2 separate regions of the Homo sapiens genome follow, and region 2 is linked to region 1. The links are contacts of gene promoters, found by promoter capture Hi-C in human tissues and cell types (Jung and others, 2019). All regions are on one chromosome and are shown on one strand. The core of a region is centred on a gene start or on the middle of the fragment in contact, and the rest is flanking DNA. Distances in the headings are between cores, read along the strand shown. Region 1 holds the start of GDF6 (growth differentiation factor 6). Region 2 has its middle 36 kb from the start of GDF6.

Region 1 (3,152 bases), core at 498-2,997:
GCTGAAGCAGCTTCCGAATCCCGAACCCCAGCGCTGCAAGGTTTCCGGGCAACCCCACTTAACTGGGAGCAGGTCAAAGTCATGGAGCTAAGTCTAGGGAGGATGGAGGAGTGGATATCTGCCTAAATCGCTTTTATCCCGTCATTTTCTTCCTTCCTTCTCTTTACTCTTCCTTTCCTTTTTCTCCCTTCCTTTCCTGTCTCCTTCCACATTATTGTCTCTCTCCTTTAGGAGCTTAGTTTCCGATGCCTGTGGATCCTTCCCTGATTTCTGGGACCAGAGGTGGTGCGAGGTTTTCTTGAGGGCACTGGCCACGCTGCAGATCAACGCCGGTGGCAAGAAGGGGCCGCAAGGGTTTCCGCAGACACCCACACATGCAGGCGTTCCCACAGAGGGTACCAGGGATTTCCCAGACCCCCACCAGCCCTCAGGAATAGCGTAGAGAGAGGAACGTCGCCTGGCTGAGAAAGGTGGATGGGCATACCCATGTACCTTTGTGTATTAAGTACCCACAACCTCCGAACTTAGCCGTCCCTGTCCCGGCCCGCCCAACTGCTGCCGCCGCATCTGCAGAAACCACTCGTGTTGAGGCCTCGGAGCAGCCGGGAGCACCACGCTGGAGCAAAAAAGCCGGAGGGCGCAGGGCTCCAGCCCGGCTGACCATCCCACCCAGCGCAGGGACCAACGGAAAACCCGCGCGGCGCCAGGACCAGGGGGCTGCCCGACGCCGCTCGCGGACTAGTTCCTCAGACTGTGGGACTCCCTAGTGCCGGCTTTGCCCAGGGCTTTCCAAGGCTGTCTCATGCCCTAGATCTGCCCCAGCAGCTCAGGCCTTGGACTGCGAACCCAGTATCCCGAGACACCGATTCCATCAGTCCCCATCCCGACCCCTCTCCAGCCGGGTTCATCCGCCTGCTGCCTCCCGTCCTCCACGTTTCCCCCACCAGCCACCAACAAGCGGCAACCACGCTGCCTTCTGCAAAAGAGGAAGAAGGAAAGAAGGGAGAGAGAAAGAAAGGGGGGGAAAGGAAGGGAGGTTTAGAGACTGGAATAGAATCCGCAGCCACATTCAGAAACTTACTCGAGCTTGAGAAAAACAATTTAAGAAAAGTAAAAAGGAAGTGTCCAGAGCAGGAAGGGAATTCACAAATGTAGCCTCCAGCGGGAACAGCTCCCTGGCTGCCGAGCTCCAGCGGGAGGGGAGTCGAGCGTTTTCTTTGCCACTTACCTAGTCCCCTGTCTACAAAGCTGGTGATCGTATTAGCCGACTTGGAAGACTGGAAAAAGCTGGCATTGATGCCCAGCTTCTCAGCGATGGAGTAAGTCCTGTAGATTGACAGCATGTACTCGTGGGGCACCACGCGCGGACCCCTGCCTGGCGGCTCCTGCGCCCGGGGCTGCTGAGCCCGGGGTTCGTCCTGAGGCCGCGGCTGTGGTTCCTGGCCCTCCCGGCCCGCGTCACTGTCGCGCGGCGCCCGCTGCATCTTGCCTTCCTTGCGGCTTCGCATGCCCTTGGTGGAACCCAGCTCGGCGGACGACGAGGAGGATGAGATGGAAGCCTGCTGGAAACCGGGCAAATCCCACAGAAAACTGATGAGGAAGACGGCCGAGAGCAGGACCCTGGGAGTATCCATGGCGGGCAAGTGGCTGCGTCTCCCCAGGAGGCGGTGGCGGCGGCGCAGGACGCGCGGGGCACGGAGCGGCTGGACAGCGGCCGGGGCCCGGCTCCTCGGGCGGACTCGGAGTGCGAGGAGCCGGGTCCCAGCCACACAAACCCCGGCCCCGCCACGCCCCCTCCCGCCCCTCGCCGGGAGGGGAGGAATGGGGAGGGAGGGCAGAGGAGGGGTGGGGAGGGTGGGAGGAGAGCCGGGTGGTGCGGGCCGGAGGTGTGGGGGAGAGGGGCCGCGGTGCGCCGGTGTGGCAGGAAGACGCAGCGCCCCCGCGGGACGCGCGCGGGGTTGCCGGGCGGTGCGCGCGGCGCGGGCCGCAAGCGCTGACCGGGGGAAGGCGGGCGCTGCCGGCCCGTGGCCGGGGAGCAAAGGCTGGCCCGCCGCGCCAGGGTCCCCCTCGAACTCCCGGAGGTGTGGTCCCTCCGCAGCGCGGCCCCGGCTCTCGGTCCTCGCCAGCCGCCTCCACTTTCCTGGGAGCGAGCGGCCCCGGAGGAGGGAAGCGGCGGCGGCGCCCCCAAGAGACAGCTTGGAGCAGGCGCCTCTGCTGCAGGCTGCGTGCTGCCTCGGGGCGGTGGTACCCTCCCTCCTCGGCCCCAACCGCCAGGCCTGCCGTTTGCGCCCCTCAGGGGCCAGCCCGGAGCCAGAGAAGCCTCGCCCTGGGCCAGGCGCAGGGCCCAGCTCGGAACAGCCCCATTTTCTCGGTTGGGTATCGCTCTCCACAAAGACAGGCGTCTATTCCCGACCCTCGAGGTCAGGCAAAGGCCACGAGTCTTTAGAGTTTGGATCGATGCTAAAAGCTGCTGCGCTCCCCTGCAGGCCCCAGCCTCTCCTCTCGCAGTCCCCAACCTCTTCTGACGCAGACTTTAGCTGCTCCACTTCTTCGTCTGCTCCCGGGATCCTCTCCCTCTCGCGGCCTGCCCCCCGCCTCCACTGCATCCCCATTTTCCCTCTCTTCTTTCCCTCCCGCCTGCAGGACTTCCTCCTTCCCCAAGTTCCTTCTGCATTCCAATCCCTCTTCCCCAGCCTGCTTTTCTTCTCACACTGCCCTCCCATCTCACACTGCCTTCCCACCCTCTCTCTTCCCGGCCTCCCCCCTCGCCTTCCAGTGGACCCCTCCCTTTGCAGCTCTACCCCAATCTGTTTCTCTTCAGCCCAGCCTCGCCCCATCACGAGTTTCCTTTATCTGTCCCCAGATTCCCCGTGCCTGTCTTCCCCGCCCACTGCCTCGCTCATTCCTGGGCCTGCACGCTGAAAGGCGATGCGGCGTAGCGCTGCTTCTGTCTGCCACAGTGCTCTGCCCTGGACTGCTATGGGCAGAAGAGTTTCCCTCAGTACTGATTGGGTGCTCAGGCACCAACCATAAAGTACCCTCCTTTAATCGTGCCAACAGCTTTGTGAGGTTGGCGTTGACTATTTTCACCTTCACGGATGGAAAAAAAAAAGACTCAATGGAAATAAGTGACTTTTCCAAGGCCACTCTGC
Region 2 (3,471 bases), core at 323-2,822, 36 kb before region 1:
CATTTTGCTTATCTACTCATTCTTCGATGGACACTTGAGTTGCTTCCACCTTTCAGGTGTTGTGAATAATGCTGCCATGAACATGGGTGTACAAATCTCTCTTTAAGATCCTGATTTCAGTTCTCTTGGGTATATACTCAGAAGCAGAATTGCTGGGTCATATGGTAATTTTATTTTTGTTTTTTGAGAAACTGCCATGATGTTTTCCATTGTGGCTGCACCATTTTACATTCCTGTCAATATTGCAGAAGGGTTCCAATTTCTCCACATCCTCACCAACACTTGTTATTTTCTGGAGTTTTGGTTTTTTAATATAGTAGACATCTTAATGGATGTGAGGTGATATCTCATTGTGGCTTTTATTTGCATTTCCCTAACAATTAGTGCTGTTGAGCATCTTTTCATGTATTTATTGGCCAATTGTATATCTTCTTTGGGGAAATGTCTATTCATGTCCTTTGCCTATTTTCAAATCAAGTTTTTATTGTTGACATTGTTGAGTTGTCGGAGTTCTCTATGTATTCTGGATATTAACCCCTATCAGATATACAATTTGCAAATATTTTCTCTGATTCCATAGATTGCCTTTCCATTGTGTTGATTGTGTCCTTTGATGAGAAGAAGTCATTTACTTGTTTATTATGCTTACTGTTTTGATTTCTGTCTCCCCTCTAAAATGCAGTCTCTGTGAGGGCCAGGCCATACGTATTTCGTCCATGGCTGCATCCCCAGTGCTATGAACAGTGCTTGGCACTTAGTAGGATCTCAATAAATATTTGCCAAATAGCTGAATATGTGAATGGACAGATTAAAGATATGGTCTGGGCTTCTTGCAGTTCCTAAAACCCATGTGTGGTGCAAAAGTGAAAAAAATCTGAAGCATAATTAACAGTTATTTTAAAAATGCTCTAAAACAATAGCTTACACATAGGTTTCTTGAATGAAGGGCTTTTTAAAAACTCTTCTCCCATATGTAGCTGGTTTCCCAGGCTAGTTGGAAAGCATGCCTGCCTCCTTCTTTGGAATCCATTAAAGTGACAAATGCCAACTCTGAACACAAACCGTGTTCATTCCATTTCACCCACCCTGTATTATTGGCTCTCCTTGCCCCTACCCGGCCTCTTAATACCTGGCTGCTCTCCCGGTCTTCTTCCCTGTCTGAGCTTCTCCCCATGGCCCTTTCTCACATTGCCCCATATCTGCTTTATGTCGAAGGTCCCAGCCCGGCTCTGTCAGGGATTACTTTGCTTCCATTGTTCTGCCGAGGACCACACACTGGGGCACGGCTCAGGTACCCTTTAGTCTAAGGAGGCCTGTGGGAACCTTGGAGAAAGGAATAAAGGGGGGCAGTGATTGAGCAGTACTTAGGAGGGGCCAGTTACATGTCAACCCCGATTAATGATAATGGTAATTTAGAATCTGCTTATGGTTTCTATTGTTAGGCTTTGCCAAGAAGTTTCCGACATGGTATTTCAAAGGGTTCCGGGGCTGGCTGATGCTGCAGACTTAACCTTCTACTGCAGGGAGATCAGCGAGCAGGGTGTGTGTGGCTTCAGAGGAGCGGCTTGCCTGAAACAGTGTGCCCTGTCATTAATGCGGGTCCTGTCTGGTCAGGTGCATCTCTTCCTTCATGTTCACCAGGATCCACCCACTCCAGTGCAGCAATAGAGACAAGAGGACTTTGATTATTCTCATGACAAAGACAAATTGTTGAGATTGTCCCTTCTCCTTTACTCCCTCTTCTAGGTTGCTCTGTTCACGCAAGCAAAAAAAAAAAAAAAAAAAAAAAAAAAAAAAAAAAAAAACTATACTTCCAACTGAGAACAATGAACTTTAGCAAGCTTTGTTGTCCAGGAGAGAGGCAACCTATAAATAAGGTTAAGTGTATATGAACTTGGCCACAGGCTGCTGAGATTCAAATCCTGACCCAGTTGCTTTCTAGCTTGGAGACTTGCAGCAAAACACTTAATCTCTCCGGGACTCATTTTCCACATCTGGAAAATGGGGATGATGATAAGACTTCCTTTGTCATTGATAATGAGAAATCAGTGAAGTACTGCAAGTAAAACCCTAAGAACAGCATCTGACACACAGTAAGTGCTTGTCAAATGTGCATTATTACTATCATTGCACAATTGGGGAAGGGTCAGAGGTCTCTTCCTTTAGAACGGGGTTTCCAACCTCAGCACAGTTGACACTTTGGGCCTGATAATTCTTGGTTATGGGGGGCTGTCTGTGGATTGAAAGATGTTTAGCAGCCTCCCTGACCTCTACCTGCTAGATGCCACCTTCACTGTCCCCCCAACCACAACAATCAAAAATGCCTCCTGCCAAATGTCCCTGAAAAGGGAGGTGGAAGAGGGAAGGGAGTTTTTGCCTGGTTTTGACCTACTTCTTTAGAATAAACAGCAAAAATTCTATATAAATGCATTTCTGTGGCTATATCCCACTGTGTGAAGGCAGTTTTCCTTAAACTGGGAATTTCAATATTCCTAGAGGGATTTGAAGAGTTACAAGATCACAGAAAGCGATTCCAACACGCTTTCTATCCTTGCAATCGTGGTTGGCCACTTTAGCACCTCCATCCACAATTAATCCCTGCCCTCCAGAGGGTGGCCCACCATTCATTAGCTGCTACCTGGCTCAACTCCCACCTAAAGGGCAGCAAGACCAGATGCTGCAGGCAGGACAGGGTGTGTGCCCTCCCCAAATCAATGCTTGGCATGTACTAGATGCTTTGTGAAAGTTGATTGAATGAAAGCAAGAATTGAGTCATGCTTTAGCATAGTTTTTTTTTTTTTTCATTTTCTGTTTGTTTTTGACTCACAGAACCTCATCTTTCCAAAGAGCAGTAAATCTCACACAAAACTGAAATCTGAGCGGCAGAACAGGAAAACTAAGGCAGAAAAAATGTCCCAGCTTAGGAAAAAAACAAGAGAAATTGCAAAGGAGTGATGGTGGGGCATCTTTTGATTCCTCCATCTTCTGGGGAAAAAAAAAACTGTATTCTGTTTTTAGCTGGTAATACATTTCTTTCCATATTTTAGGGATGCAATGAGCAAGGAAAGACGAGGAGGGGGGTCCTCCTTAGAGGCTTAGAGATCAAGCAGTTCTCTCTCCCCACTTCCTGTCTGCCCCCAAAAAGAAGGCAAAGTATGTGGGCCACCTTAACAGAGCGGGTGGCCTCTCTGTTATTTCCTCTCTTCATTTCCTCCAAAGGAAAATGAAGGCTCAGAGCAGAACTGAGAGGAGAACTGAGCAATACCATCAACATCTCGCCTGAACCTAAGGTGGAGGAGAAAGTGAAGTAGTCATACAAAAACCAGAGGAACAACTTGAGATGGTCAATGAAAGACAAATTAGGATTGACCCAGTTGCTTCTACTAGGAGTCAATCACTCTGGTCCTCTTTTTCTCTTGGCTATGATCTGGGCTCAAGTCAGTAGGCATTTGAGTTGTGAGGACGTGGTAG

What was found. Contacts are between HindIII fragments. The study calls those that stand out against the background at their distance.
Region 2: a fragment that was not itself captured here is called in contact with the fragment with the promoter of GDF6 in region 1 in 1 of the 25 tissues and cell types used here (heart right ventricle).

The regions. Positions count from the first base shown.
Region 1 is chr8:96,159,059-96,162,210 of GRCh38, forward strand. It overlaps GDF6 (growth differentiation factor 6), which reads right to left and starts at 1,748. Exons shown (of 2, transcript NM_001001557.4): 1 at 1,229-1,748. The coding sequence starts at 1,634. The HindIII fragment of the contact is 22,921 bases long and covers 1-3,152 here.
Region 2 is chr8:96,122,864-96,126,334 of GRCh38, forward strand. No RefSeq gene overlaps it. Among named protein-coding and RNA genes, the nearest start is that of GDF6, 36 kb to the right of the region's middle. The HindIII fragment of the contact is 3,843 bases long and covers 1-3,471 here.